Regions from separate parts of the Homo sapiens genome. Here all the other regions are linked to region 1. Evidence: promoter capture Hi-C in human tissues and cell types (Jung and others, 2019). All regions are on one chromosome and are shown on one strand. Each heading gives the region's core, a stretch centred on a gene start or on the middle of the fragment in contact. The rest is flanking DNA. Distances are from core to core; before and after follow the strand shown. Region 1 holds the start of ZBTB8B (zinc finger and BTB domain containing 8B). Region 2 overlaps YARS1 (tyrosyl-tRNA synthetase 1). Region 3 overlaps KPNA6 (karyopherin subunit alpha 6).

Region 1 (5,039 bases), core at 1,543-4,042:
GACCTGAAACTTGGAGCCTGGATGCAGGAGATGTGGAATGAATACTAGGGTGAGTTCCAGGTACAGTCATAATTAAGGTGAAGGCATCAGTGACATGACTTCCCAGGTAAGAAGATACAAAAGGCTGAGCCCAGAGAAGCTTGGTGCTCCTCACTTCTGATGCTTTCTCTGCTGCTATGATGATCAAAAGTCCTCAGCACCTGAGCTGGCCTTTGGGAACCAGGTGGCAAGGACAGCCACACTAACAGGAAAGATGTAACTGCTGCTGTCCCTCTCTGGGTATCCAGCTTTACAAGAAATAGGTAAACTACTTTTCTTTGATAGATAGTATAGTGGTGTTTGGCTGACATTTTACCTTCTAAAATTATTAAGTTATCTTTAGAGTGAACTGCAATTACATTTTTGACAAGCTCTAAAATATATCCTAAACAAACCCCTCCATCTCTACCACCTCTACCCTATCCCCAGTTATCAGCATCTATCAGCAGGGGAGAGATCATATCTTATCTCTTCCCTGCTTAAGATCCTTCGAAGGTGTCCCTTCACATTCATAAGAAAAAATCCAAACTCCTTAAGGTGGCCTACAAATTCCTACATAATCTGGCCTTTGCTTCTCTATCCATTCATATTTCCTGTCGCTTGGACTGGCTACATAATTTGTGGGGCCCAATGCAAAATGAAAATGCAGAGCTCCTTGTTCAAAAACTACTAAGAATTTTAAGAGGGCAATGGCAGAGCATTAAACCAGGCATCAGCCCTTTCCTTTTTTTTAATTTTTAAAATATTTATTTAGATTTTCTTTTTGTTAGTAATTAAATCTTTCTTCTTCTTCTTCTTCTCCTCCTCCTCCTTCTCCTTCCTCTCCTTCCTCTTCCTCTTCTTCTTCTTCCCTCTTCCCTCTCTCCTCCTCCTCGTCCTCCTCCTCCTTGAAACAGTGCAGTGGCACAATCTCAGCTCACTGCAACCTCCACTTTCCATGTTCAAGTGATTCTCATGCCTCAGCCTCCCGAGTAGCTGGGATTACAGGTATGTGTCACCATGCCCAGCTAATTTTTGTATTTTTAGTAGACACTGGGTTTTGCCATGTTGGCCAGGCTGGTCTCAAGTGATCCGCCCGCCTCAGCCTCCCAAAGTGCTGGGATTACAGGTGTAAGCCACCGCACCTGGCTCTTTTTTTGTTTTGTTTTGTTAAGTATAAAACCTCACCTGGAAGCACCAGCCCTTTCTGAGTGTGCGGGCCTGTGCCACTGCGTGGGTTGCACGTCCATTAAGCTGGTCTACCTGCCATCCACTTCCTCAACCCAATGGCATTCTCCTGTTTCTTAGATATGTACCAACCGGTTTTCTGTTTTATCTTAGCATGGCTCACTACTCCTCATTAGGGTCTCTCAGCGAAGGGGGTAGCCTTTTTTTTTTTTTTTTTTTTTTTTGAGACAGAGTCTTGCTCTGCTGCCCAGGCTGGAGTGCAGTGGCCAGATCTCCACTCACTGCAATCTCTTTGGTTCAAGCATTCTCCTGCCTCAGCCTCCCAAGTAGCTGGGATTACTGGCCCACGCCCGGCTAATTTTTGTATTTTTAGTAGAGATGGGGTTTCACCATGTTGGCCAGGCTGGTCTCGGACTCCTGACCTCAGGTGATCCACCCGCCACCACTCCAGCCTGGGCAACAGAGTCTGAGACTCCGTCTCAAAAAAAAAAAAAAAAAAAAAAAAAAAGTCATACTGGCATAGAGTGAACCCCTAATCCAATATGACTGGTATCCTTATAAAAATACTTTTTTTTTGGAGACGGAGTCTCTCTCTGTCGCCCCAGGCTGGAGTGCAGTGGCGCGATCTCGACTCACTGCAACCAAAAGGAGACATTTTGACATGGAGACATATACAGGGAATATGCCCTGTGAACATGAAGATGGCCATATGCAAGCCCAGGAGAGAAGCCTGGAAGAGACCGTTTCCTCACAGCGCTCAGAAGGAAAGAACCCTGCCAACATCTTGCTTTCAGATGCCCCCAGGATTGTCAGACAATAAGATCTGTTATTGACGCCACCGGGTTGGTGATACTTAGGTACAGCAGCCCTAGCAAACGAATACACCCCCATGAGAACTAAGCTCCCTGAGAGCGGTAAGCTGCCTTGTCTTGCTCACAGCTGACAAGAACACGCCTGTACGGTCACTTAGCACCTAGTACTGCCATTTAACCGTTTCACTAGTATGTATGAACCGGAGAGCCTGTCAAGGGAAGAGCTGAATCTTTTATCTTTTGTAACGACTACCCAGTGAAAGAAACCGCGGGTATGCAATAAAAACCTGTTGAATCGATTAAACCATTTCCCTTATTTCCAGATTTTTGCGGAAAGCGCCAGTAGGTGAAATATGTGCGGACTGATGAGTCAAAGCTCTTATTCCCTGGACTGCATTAATACCCACGACGTGCTTTTCGCTCTCCAGACAAAGAGACCGGTACTTGGCAGGTCCCTCAAGTGGGACTCAAAAGACCGAACCGAGCTGCAGCCTTTCGCTAGCACTGGTCCTCGCCCCTTTTGGCATCTTGGTACTTGTAGTTTTGTCCACTCTATCTTTACCCGAAAAGCCAGCGCTGAGACCACAACTCCCATCACCCTGCGAGCACCAGCGCCTTCAGAGCGCATCCTCCGAGGGGCACCAGCGCCATTGACCACCCTGCTGGCCGAAGGGCCCGCCTTCCCGAGGCCAGGCGCTCCCGCGATTGGCCAGCCGCCCCGCCTCTCATCGGAGGGCGCCAGGTGAATGAAAGGGGGGCGTGTCGGTGCGCGGTGCTCCGTGGCTGCGCTGCTGGAACCCGCTGGAAGGTGAGCGCGAAGAAGCGGGTTGGCGCTGCCGCTTTCGTTGGTTTGGGGAGGATTCCTAGCACCCGGGAGGCTGGCTGGAGATTGGGGTTAGCGGGCAGGGTTGCCCCCACTCAGTCATCCTCCTTCGGACCGCTTGGCCCTGGCAACTCCTGGGACCTCCGCCCCGCGAGCCCTTCTAGCGTGGGGAGGGGCAGGCGCGGCCGTGGGGCCCCAGCTTCCCTGTCATTGGGTGTCCTCCGCGTCGTCCAGCCGGGGGTCGCGGCGCCGACTACTTCCACGGTGAATGGTGCCCAGGCGTGGGGGGCTCGGCCACACTGGAGAAGTGCCAGCGGCAGCGATGGCCACTTTGTCCGCGGGAGGCCATGGGAGGGGCTAGGCCTTGGGGTCCCACCCTCGGGGGCCGTGCCCTGTAGCTGGTTCTGGTGGCCTCTCTGCAGGTCGTCTGATGCTGGACGGGGGAGGGTCTGTCTTGCGAGCAGTTTAGATGCAGTTGACCCTGAAATTCTTCGTATGGAAATGGAAACTTCTCCAGTGTCCTTCTCCTCCGATCCATGCCTAAAAGAAAGGAGTGACTTCCCCAACCTGTCGCATCGTGTCCTGGAGGGTTTGAGGAGGCCGGTTAGCATAGTGGTTAAGGATGTCAACCCGGGAGTCAGTCGGATCTCTGTTCTATTACTAACTTGGTGATGTTATCTGCATCTTTGAATCTCAGTTCCTCCTCTGAAAAAGAGGATGTAGTTAGAGTATCTGTCGTACTGGATTATTGTGAGGTGAAAACTAATGTGCTTGTAAAAGCCAGGCATGGTGGCGCGCACCTGTAGTCCCTGCTACTCGGGAAGCTAAGGTTGGGAGGATCTCTTGAGCCCAGGAGTTCCAGGCTGCATTGAGGTAGGATCGTGCACTCCAACCTGGGCAACCGAGCAAGACCGTGCCTTTTAAAAATTTTAATTTAAAAAGTAAAATGAATATGCTTGTACTTTGTACAGTGTTTTATAAGGAATAGTGCTTAATATTTACTAAAATTGAGGAGCAGGTTTTTGTTATTCTCAGGTTGGTGGGACTGGAGGAGTCTTGTCAGAAAGGGTCGGAGGTGGAATTCAAGGCTGCTTTTGGCCTCTGAACAGAGACAGTTGTGTGATCTGGCTAGGACTCCCTCAAGGGTATATGAGAGTTTGTATTGCAGGTAGTTGTGTTGGCATCTGCTGTCTCCTGGAGGACAGGCACTATACTTGGTTCATTTTTCTATTCCTGGCATCTTCCTTGTGTCAGGCATTGTATGTAGCCGGTAACCGTTGAATTGAGTTGGAACCGTGGGATGGTTGGGAGGTTCCCTGCCAGAGTGCGGATAAATGTGCTTCTGAGAGCAGTCTGCCCTAAGAGCTGCTCTTCTGGGATAAGTGGTGATCCTCAGCACTTCCCGGGGCAGCAGAGCACTTCAGGCAAATGGGGGTGATATAAATAAATATTTACACAATATATACCAAGTACAGGATTGGGGAAAATTTTGAAGAAAATACTATACGGATAGACTTTTGCAACGTCAGGAAGTAGAATAAAAATAATTGCAATAGAATAAAAAATAATTTCAGTAAGAAAGCCAAAAGAAATTGGTTTTAGGTGCTATTTCTGGAAAGGAGGCTTTTCCAGTGAAAGACGGAAGTGCCCTGGGAAGAGCCCCTATAGATCAGACCATACTACAAGTTAAGAAGTGTTGTGCGTACTTACATATTTATCTACCTGGCTTACCAACTCCTTACCCCTCTGCCCTGCCTCCTTTTTTTCTTAGTTAACAAAGAAAAAAGCCAAGGCAGAAGGATCACTTGAGTCCAGGAGTTCAAGACCATTGAGACCAGCCAGGGCAACATAGTGAGACCCCATCTCTACAAAAAAATGTTTTCAGAATTAGCTGAGTGTGGTGCTGCATGCCTGTAGTCACAGCTACTTGGGAGGCTGAGGTAGGAGGATTGCTTGAGCCTGGGAGGTCGAGGCGGCAGTGAACTGTGATCATGGACTGCACTCCAGCCTGGGTAACAAAGTAAGACCCCGTCTCAAAAGAAAAGAAAAGCAATACATGCACATAGTAAAACATTCTATCAGAAAGGTTTAAAATGAAAGGCGAAAGTCCCTCCACACACTTGTTTTTTTTTTTTTTTTTGAGATGGAGTCTCGCACTATCGCCCAGGCTGGAGTGCAGTGGCACAATCTCTGCTCAC
Region 2 (5,039 bases), core at 1,254-3,753, 320 kb after region 1:
ATTTTAGTAGAGACGGGGTTTCACCATGTTGCCCAGACTGGTCTTGAACTCCTGACCTCGTGATCCACCTGCCTCAGCCTCCCAAAGTGCTGGGATTACAGGTGTGAGCCACCACGCCCAGCTGACTGCCTTTTTTATATCTCAAATCTGGTCTGAAAGAATCTTCTAGATATTCTGAGGGGACATCCCTTAGGAATGAACACTTTTAATACAACAAAGCGAACATTTTTGTTTCTGATACTACTTCTTCATTTCCTTGGGAATATTTAATTTTAATAAAAGCTCTAGGGCTGCTGCTGTCCAATATGGTGGCTACTAGCCTTGTGTGGGTATTTAAATGTAAACTGAAATTCAGTTCTTCAACTGCACCTGCCACATTGCAAGTGCTCAACAGCCACATGTGGCTTCTGTATCAGGCAGTACAGATAGGACATATCCATCACCACAGAAAGTACTGTTGGATAACATGGCTGCAGACCTTTTTTCTGAGGAATTTCATCTATTCCTAATTCCCACAAAAGACTTTTTTTTTTTTTTTGAGACATGGTCTCGCTCTGTTACCCAGCTGGAGTACAGTGGCGCAATCATGGCTCAGTGCAGCTTTGATCTCCTGGGCTCAAGCGATCCTCCCACCTCAGCCTTCCCAGTAGCTGCGACTACAGGCATGCGCCATCATGGCTGGCCAGTATTTTGATTTTTTTTTTTTTTTTGTAGAGACAGAGTCTCACTATGTTGCCTAGGCTAGTCTTCAACTCCTGAGCTCAAGCAATTCTCCTGCCTTGGCCTCCCAAAGTGCTGGGATTACAGGTGTGAGCCACCGCACCTGGCGTACATTAACATTTCTAGCAGCTCCATTAAATTGGTTGGACCTGAATTCAGAGTCAATCACAAAACCCCCCATTTTATTCCTATATATGGTATTATCACATCTTCCCTTTGTGACCTGGCCCTGCCTATCTCTCCCATAATCCCCCTCCTCACCTTTTAGACTCTAGTCAGACCAAACCACCTGGAATTCCTCATACATCATGCTGCTTCATCCTACCATGTCTTTGTACAACTTATTCCCTCACAGATTTCCTTGTGAACTCCTATTCCTCAAGCAAAATAGTGCTTGGATAGTGTCTCCTCCACAAGCTTTTCTAGAGTCAGTTAATCATTTCCTCCTATATTATTTCTGGTATATATATATTCTTTTCATTATATATATTCACATATATATTTTCACACATATATTCACATATATACACACATACACACATATGTTAAAAAACACATATAGATATATATGTAAAATGCAGCCAATGAAATGTTTACAAGTCTGCCTCGCCTACTGGACTGAGCATTAGGAGGACTGAACCCTCTGTGTAATACCAGTCCCTAGCATAGTGCCTAACACATGGGCACCTAGTAAGTCTTTTGTTCAAGTGTCTGTTGAAATGAATAGGAGCCTCTATTCTGTCCTTTTATAATTATCTCTTGTTTTTGAATCCTGATTTTGCATCTGTTCCTGAAATACTTCATTTTTGCTGAGTTAGGTCCTTTATTCCAGCCTGCTAAGTCATTTGGAGAGTGATTAAAGCACCAGTATATTAGCATTGTACCATTTGCCTATCGAATCTGGGAACCACCTGAATCCTCATCAAAGCCATTAACAAAATATGCAGCCCTGGAGAGCATAAACAGAGCCCTGGCCGGGCACAGGGGCTCACGCCTGTAATCCCAGCACTCTGGGAGGCCGAGGCAGGCGGATCACCTGAGGTCAGGAGTTCAAGACCAGCCTGGCCAACATGGTGAAACCCCGTCTCTACTAAAAAATATGAAAATTAGCCGGGTGTGGTGGTGGGCACCTGTAATCCCGGCTACTCAGGAGGCTGAGGCAGGAGAATCGCTTGAACCTGGGAGGCGGAGGTTGCAGTGAGCCGAGATCGTGCCACTGCACTCCAGCCTAGGCGACAGAGTGAGACTCTGTCTCAAAAAAAAAAAACCCCACAAAAACACAGAGCCCTGTAGCATATAACTACAAACCTAGCGGGCCAAGATGGAGAGGTCTGGCAGAGTTGAGTGGGGATTATCTTTCTTTTTCTTTTCTTTTCCTTTCTTTTTTTCTTTTTGAGACGGAGTTTCACTCTTGTTGCCCAGGCTGGAGTACAATGGCGCGATCTCGGTTCACTGCAACCTCCGACTCCCAGGTTCAAGCGAATCCCCTGCCTCAGCCTCCCGAGTAGCTGGGATTACAGGTGCGTGCCACCATGCCTGGCTACTTTTTTGTATTTTTAATAGAGATGGGGTTTCTCCGTGTTGGTCAGGCTGGTCTCGAACTCCTGACCTCAGGTGATCCACCCACCTCGGCCTCCCAAAGTGCTGGGATTACAGGTGTGAGCTGCTGCACCCAGCCCATTTTCTTTTTTTTTTTTTTTTTTAGTATCTCATGTAATTTATTGAATACAGAAAGTGAAAAACAGAATGGTTGTATGGGTACTTGAAGAAGTATGGTTTCTACTGAATGAGTACTGCTTTTGTACATCCTAAAGGGACCACTCGTGTGTATAAGATTACAGACATTTACTGATAAGAAATGTTTCCTGAGAAGAGGTGAGACAGAGTCCCTGCCAGGTAAGGAAAGGGCCCCGAGGGATAGAAATCCATCTGTATTAACAAAATTCCTAAGTCAGAAAAGCTAACTGACAAGAAACTTTAACCAAAACTGCAATTTTGAAGGAAAATGGACACTAGTGAGATTACCAAAAGTAGAGCAAAAATAGCAGGCAGCTCACTTTTACACAGAACAAGTTGTTCTAAACAAGTTCTAACAGTCAGCAAAAAATAACAAAATACAGATCTTCATGAAAGGATTCCTTTTCCTTTCATGTTACCTCAGCAGCAAAGTCCTTTTCCAGGTCCACGTAAGCTGTGTAGGTTTTGTTTCCACCCCATTTCTCATCTCGTAGGATCACAAACTCTATAAGGAAAAGGATCCATGTCAACAAACTCATTGACAGCATTCCTAGCTCACATGCATGACTATTCCTAGCCCACATGCATGACTATTTGTAGTTTTTGCCATATATTCTGAACTTTATTGTATGGTATTATTCTTAAATTGGATGAGTGGCACTATTGTATACCCAGCTAGCATCTCAGCTGCTTCAGGGGAAGGCTTGTGGCTTATATCTATTTTGTTGTATTCCTCTAGTTCAACATGTCTGCCCCCACCCTTACTTCTAACACCTCTGCCCACTCCAGTATTCCCTCAGAACCTAGCCTGGTAACGAATATATGGACAATTAAATTACATCCCAACATCATTCATACTTTAATATATAAGAAATCAGAGCAGAGAATCAGGGCAGCCAGTCCCTGAAGGAAGAGTCTGTGACAAATCACAAGTATGATCACAGCACGAACTTTTCTATTCTAGCCTGGCCTCTAGGAAGAAAACAGAGAGTGTTACCGGACTTAAGGGGAAAAAGGACATGCTTGATGAAGGACAGAACCCCATTGTTCTCCACATTTCCTGGCTCACAGAAGGCCTTCTTCAGTTTTTTCTTCACATCCTCCTTCCGATCAAGGAGATCAATCTTGGACTCCTAGAAGTCATAGAACGGAAGAGGACCTCTTGTGGTTGAAAATGAGAATATGCTCAACTAATATAAGTTAAATTTTGTTTTTTCTTCTCTGTCACCCAGGCTGGAGTGCAGTGGCACAATCATGGCTCACTGCAGCCTCAGCCTCCTGGGCTCAAGAGATTCTCCCATCTCAGCCTCCTGGAAAGCTGGGACTACAGGAATGTGTCACCATGCCCAGGTAATTCTATTTTTTGTAGAGACAGGGTTTCATCATGTGGCCCAGGCTGGTCTCAAACTTCTGGGCTCAAGCAACTCTCCTGCCTTGGCCTCCCAAAAAGTGCTGGGATTAAAGGTGTGAGCCACTGTGCCTCGCTAAAAAAATTCTTTTTACAAAGATTTTAACATTAGGTACTTGCAGATATTTTCCTGTGGATGTGGTAAAAATAAATAAATAAAGATTTTTTTTTTTTTTTGAGACGGAGTCTCACTCTGTTGCCCAGGCTGGAGTGCAGTGGCGCCATCTGAGCTCACTGGAAGCTCCGCCTCCTGGGTTCACGCCATTCTCCCGCCTCAGCCTCCCGAATAGCTGGGATTACAGGTGCCTGTCACCACGCCCAGCTAATTTTGTTTTTGTATTTTTAGTAGAGACAGGGTTTCACCGTGGTAGCCAGGATGGTCTCGATCTCCTGACCTCGTGATCTGCCCCGCCTTGGCCTCTCAAAGTGCTGGGATTACAGGTGTGAGCCACTGCACCCGGGCAATAAAAATATTTTAACATTTGGCTGGGCACAGTGGCTCACACCTGTAGTCTTATCACTTTGGGAGGCTGGAGAGTCGCTTGAGCCCAGGAGTTCAAGACCAGTGTGGGCAACATAGAAAAACCTCATCTCTACTGAAAATAAAAAATTAGCTGGGTGTGGTTGTACGCGCCTGTGGTCCCAGCTACTCAGGAGGCTGAGGCAGGAGGATCACTTGAGCCTGAGGTTGAAAGTGCAGTGAGGCATGATCATGCCACTACACTCCAGCCTGGGCGACAGTGAAAAACCACTCACAATCCTGCCATCTAACAAATTAAACTATTTTATTTTTTATATTCTTCTCAGGCTTTGTTTATAGCACACAAAATTGTTATGAATTTGTAGTTGGAGAATAAATGTCTATCTTTTAAGTATTTCTGAGTGGCTACCTGGTCCTTACTTACAATTTTTTTTCTTTTCAGATGGTCTCGCTCTGTTGCTCAGGATGGAGTACAGTGGTGCAATTATAGTTCACTGTAACCTCGAACTCCTGCCATTAAGTGATCTTCTGACCTCAGCCTCAAGAGGAGTTAGGACTACAGGTGTACAAAACCATGCCTGGCTAATTTTTATTTATTTATTTATTTATTTATTTTTTGAGACAGTTTTGCTTTTGTTGCCCAGGCTGGAGTACAATGGCATGATCTCGACTCACCTCAACCTCCGCCTCCTG
Region 3 (5,039 bases), core at 916-3,415, 310 kb before region 1:
CGCCACTGCACTCCAGCCTGGGTGACAGAGTGAGACTCCATCTCAAAAAAAAAAAAAAAAAAAAAAGTATAGTGTGAACATTTAATTACTTAGATATACAACTTAAATTAGAAAAAATGTAGAAAGGGGATAGAAATCATATAGTAGAGAAGACTCAATGAAGCTAAAACTTGGATCTTGCAAAAGACTAAAATAAAAATAGTCAAGTCTCTGGTAAAGGTTCTCAGGAACAAAAGAGGGCACAAATAAGACAATATTAAGGATGAAGAAAGTACACAGTCACAGATAACTGATTTAAAAGAACGTGAACAGGCCAGGCGCAGTGGCTCATGCCTGTAATCCCAGCACTTTGGGAGGCCGAGGCAGGCAGTTCACCTGAGGTCAGGAGTTCGAGATCAGCCTGGCCAACATGGTGAAACCCCGTCTCTACTAAAAATACAAAAATTAGCCGTATTAGGCGTGGTGGCAGGCACCTGTAGTCCCAGCTACTCAGGAGGGTGAGGCAGGAGAATCATTTGAATCTGGGTGGCATAGGTTGCAGTGAGTCAAGATGGTGCCATTGCACTCCAGCCTGGGCAACAAAAGTGAAACTCTGTCTCAAAAAAAAAAAAAAAAAAAGAAGAAAAATATTTAAAAATACAGAAACAAACATTTTTCACAGAAGGGGAAACATATAGCTAATAACAACATGAAATCTAACCTCATTAGTAATCTGGGATATGCAAATAATCATCTCTGTGAAATACTTTATGACACCCAGTAGATTGTCAAAAGTATTGGTCAAGATATTTGTCAGTGGCAGTACTATGGAAGACAACTTTGGCACTAGCTGGTCAAGTTAACATTTATTTACCTACAACTGAGTAATTCACTGCTTAGAACAGCAGTTCTTGGCTGGACGTGGTTGCTCATGCCTATAGTCCCAGCACTTTGGGAGGCCAAGGCAGGTGGATCACCTGAGGTCAGGAGTTTGAGACCAGCCTGGCCAACATGGTGAGACCCCGTCTCTACTAAAAATATAAAAATTAACCAGTTGTGGTGGTGTGCGCCTGTAATCCCAGCTACTCGGAAGGCTGAGGCAGGAGAATCACGTGAGCCCAGGAGGCAGAGGTTGCAGTGAGTCGATACCGTGCCACTGCACTCCAGCCTGGGTGACAGAGTGAGACCCTGTCTCAAAAAAAAAAAACAGCATTTCTCAAAGTATGGTCTGCAGACCCCTGGGATTACGGGTGGGAGCCACTGTGCCTGATGTGTTCCTGTTTTATTAAAGATTAAATTCTGAAGCAATAAAAGTTACAGGAGCTTGTCCAAGGTTGCACAGCTAACAAGTAGAAGGGTCAGGATGTGAACCCAGACAATCTGTCTCTAGGGCCCACACTTTTAACTACTAAGCTTATACCAATTGCTTTAATACCACCTGTTTAGCAAGCTTATTGTAATTAAAAGATACTGGGGCTGGGGGGTGGGTAGAGATGTCAGGTGCTATTGAGAGCTCCCAGAGAGCTGTATTCCCCCCAGAGTAGGGGAGGGTGAAGGGTGGGTAGGGATAGAAGTCTAGTGAAAAGGAAATGCTGTCCTCTCAAGAGTTTTTGGCAGTGTGTATCTTTTCTTCTAGAGACCATGGCGAGCCCAGGGAAAGACAATTATCGAATGAAGAGCTATAAGAACAATGCTCTAAACCCTGAAGAAATGAGACGAAGAAGAGAGGAAGAGGGCATTCAGCTCCGGAAGCAGAAGCGAGAGCAACAAGTGAGTTAATGGGAGTATTCTCAAACATACTATTCTGGGAAACAAGCCCCTATGGTTGGCCTCCACCATGCACCCTGACTTGCCCTGTAGAAAAGTAGCTTACTAGGTGGGCATGGTGGCTCATGTCTGTAATCCCAGCACTTTGGGAGGCCAAGGCAGGCAGATCACCTGAGGTCAGGAGTTCAAGACCAGCCTGGCCAACATGGTGAAACTTCATTTTCTCTACTAAAAATACAGAAATTAGCCGGACGTGGTGGCATGCGCCTGCAATCTCAGCTACTTGGGAGGCTGAAGCAGGAGAATTGCTTGAACCTGGGAGGCGGAGGTTGCAGGAGCTGAGTTCGTGCCATTGCACTCCAGCCTGGGCAACAAGAGTGAAACTCCATCTCAAAAAAAAAAAAAAAAAAAAAAAGAAAAGTAGCTTACTTACTGAGTGAGCTACTCATCCAGTTTCCTTTGTTGTAAATAAATGTTGGGAGCTTTGAGAAAGAGAAAACTGACCTTATCCCCTTTTCACAAGTTAGACCAACTTAGACATCATTTATGTCTTTACTGTAACATTCTAGTTCTAGTTCCTTGTTACCTTTTCTTTTCTTTTTTTTTTCTTTTTTTTTTTTTGAGACGGAGTCTGATTCTGTCACCCAGGCTGGAGTGCAATGGCACGATCTCTGCTCACTGCAACCTCTGCCTCCTGGGTTCAAGCAATTCTCCTGCCTTAGCCTCCCGAGTAGCTAGGATTACGGGCATGTACCACCACGTCCAATTAACTTTGTATATTTTTGGTAGAGACTGGGTTTCACCATGTTGGCCAGACTGGTCTCGAACTCCTGACCTTGTGATCTGCCCAGATCTGCCCGCCTCAGCCTCCCATAGTGCTGGGATTACAGGCGTAAGCCACCACGCCCAGCCTGAGACTATAATAATGCCTCACCATCTGCACTCCTACGCCACCCCGCCAACAGATTCAGTCACCTGATTATTATTATTTATTTATTTATTTATTTATTTATTTATTTATTTATTGAGACAAGGTCTCACTCTGTCACCCAGGCTGGAGTGCAGTGAGTGCAGTGAGTGACATGATCTCAGCTCACTGCAGCCTCAAGCTCCCGGGCTCAAGTGATCCTTCTTCCTCAGCCTCCTGCATAGCTGGACTATAGGCATGTACCACCACGCCCGGCTAATTTTTGTGGATTTTTTTTTTTTTTTTTTTTTTGTACAGACAGGGTTTTGCCATGTTGCCCAGGCTGGTCTTGAACTCCTGAGCTGAAGTGATCCACCTGCCCTGGCCTCCCAGAGTGCTGGGATTGCAGGCATGCGCCACTGTGCCTGGCCAACCTAACCTGATTTTGCCCACCCTTTTGCTATACTATCATTCCTTTTTTTCTTTTTTTTTTTTAAGACAGGATCTTGCCCTGTTGCCCAGGTTGGAGTACAGTGGCGTGATCTTGGCCCACTGCTGCCTCTGCCTCCAAGTCCTTGAATATCTTTTCCATGTTAGTAATCAATAGTCTCCTCTTCTCTTTGTGGAATACATTCCAGGACCCACAGTGGATGCCTGAAACTGCAGATATTACTGAACCTTACATATACTATGTTTTTTTTCATGTTTTCATCTTTTTACTTAAAGGAAGCACTTTACAGCTTCTCTTTGGCACATTTGAATTGCCAGCATCACTACTCTTGCACTTTGTGGCTATTACTAAGTAAAATAAGGGTTACTTGAACACAAGCAATTGCCACCTGATAACCAAGTTGGTTATTAAGTGACTAACTGGCAGCAGCGTATACAGCATGGAATGGATGCACTGGACAAAGGATGTTCACATCCTGGGCCAGACAGAACAAGATAGCGTGAAACTTCAACACTACTCAGAATGGCATGCAATTTAAAACTTATGAATTGTTCATTTCTGGAATTTTCTGTGTAATATTTTCAGACCACGGTTGACTGGATAACTAAAATAATAGAAAGCAAAACTGAATAAGGGGAGACTAATGTATAAAGCTTGGCCTCACTTCTCAGCTACTCTAGTATATCCTTGTCAGTTATGCCATAATTTAACATTGGATTGTTCTTTGTTTTCTTTGGTTCAGAGAGTACTCTTAACCACTGTCTCTTTACTTTCAGCTTTTTAAACGGAGAAATGTGGAGCTGATTAATGAAGAAGCTGCCATGTTCGATAGTCTTCTCATGGACTCTTATGTGAGCTCTACCACTGGGGTAAGGCCCCTGCATGTGCCTCAGGCTGACCTGGAAAACACCTGCTTCTAAGGACAGAAATTGGGCCGTTCACATCATCTACCAGCTTTGCCAGTAACCATGACAAGTTCTTTCCTCTGTGGACCCTTTCGTCAGCTTTAGGAGTCAACAAAGATTCAACTTTGTTAGATATATCTGAGGAAACATTTAAGAGAAGCCATCAGTTGCCTCAGAATTAGGAATCACTTTTCAAATGTCCCAACTTGAAGCACCTATAGATTAAACAGACCCCTTCTCCTGAGCCTATTATGCCATCCTCTTGCCCTCAGTTTTTTAGAAAACAGGATGCCAAGCAGTATTATGTGCTCACATCTGGCTCTAATGTTGGTTTGCAAAGTCCTAAACTTGTTTTATGTTCTAGGAGAGTGTGATCACAAGAGAGATGGTGGAGATGCTCTTTTCTGATGATTCTGACCTGCAGTTAGCAACCACACAGAAATTCCGGAAACTGCTCTCCAAAGGTACAAAGCCTGGCCCTTGTCAGAGAGGCCTTATATGATTTAGCCTCTTTTCTCTTCACTGATGTCATCAACTTACACGTGCCCTCACTCATTCTGCTCTAGCCCTACTGACCTTGGTGTTGCTTGTACAAGATAGACACATTGCTACCTTCACACTGGATACTTCCTCTGCCTGATGTCCTCTATTCCCAGATATCTTTGTAGCAACTCCCTTACTCCTATGATTAAATCCCACCTTCAACAGTTTTATCTTTTTACCTTGCCCTACATATTCTCCTCCTCTCCCCCCATTATATTTATCTTCTAACATAATAAAATGACTCTTCCCACTAGGATATAAACTCTCTGAGGGCAGAGACTTTTGTTTTTGTTCCCTCCTGTGTCCTCTGTACCTAGAACTGTGTGGCACACCATAGGTACTTAATAAAAAAATTTAATGTATGATTGGAAAAATACCTCTTGTTTCAGTATATCAAATAGTCTTCCCAAGAAGAGAGTACTGGTCTTTCTTGAAAGGGAAATGTGCAGACCATGGTTGTTCATCCCTTAGGTGGTTCTCTCTCCCA

What was found. Contacts are between HindIII fragments. The study calls those that stand out against the background at their distance.
Region 2: a contact is called between a fragment that was not itself captured here and the fragment with the promoter of ZBTB8B in region 1, in 1 of the 25 tissues and cell types used here (dorsolateral prefrontal cortex).
Region 3: a fragment that was not itself captured here is called in contact with the fragment with the promoter of ZBTB8B in region 1 in 2 of the 25 tissues and cell types used here (adrenal gland and spleen).

What each region holds. Positions count from the first base shown.
Region 1 is chr1:32,462,280-32,467,318 of GRCh38, forward strand. ZBTB8B (zinc finger and BTB domain containing 8B) reads left to right here and starts at 2,793. Exons shown (of 4, transcript NM_001145720.2): 1 at 2,793-2,826. The HindIII fragment of the contact is 24,686 bases long and covers 1-5,039 here.
Region 2 is chr1:32,783,486-32,788,524 of GRCh38, forward strand. YARS1 (tyrosyl-tRNA synthetase 1) reads right to left here. Exons shown (of 13, transcript NM_003680.4): 7 at 3,455-3,590; 8 at 2,877-2,962. Among named protein-coding and RNA genes, the nearest start is that of YARS1, 31 kb to the right of the region's middle. RefSeq lists an enhancer at 2,843-4,042. The HindIII fragment of the contact is 7,257 bases long and covers 1-5,039 here.
Region 3 is chr1:32,152,973-32,158,011 of GRCh38, forward strand. KPNA6 (karyopherin subunit alpha 6) reads left to right here. Exons shown (of 14, transcript NM_012316.5): 2 at 1,616-1,749; 3 at 3,881-3,973; 4 at 4,374-4,473. Among named protein-coding and RNA genes, the nearest start is that of TXLNA, 24 kb to the right of the region's middle. The HindIII fragment of the contact is 4,682 bases long and covers 1-4,506 here.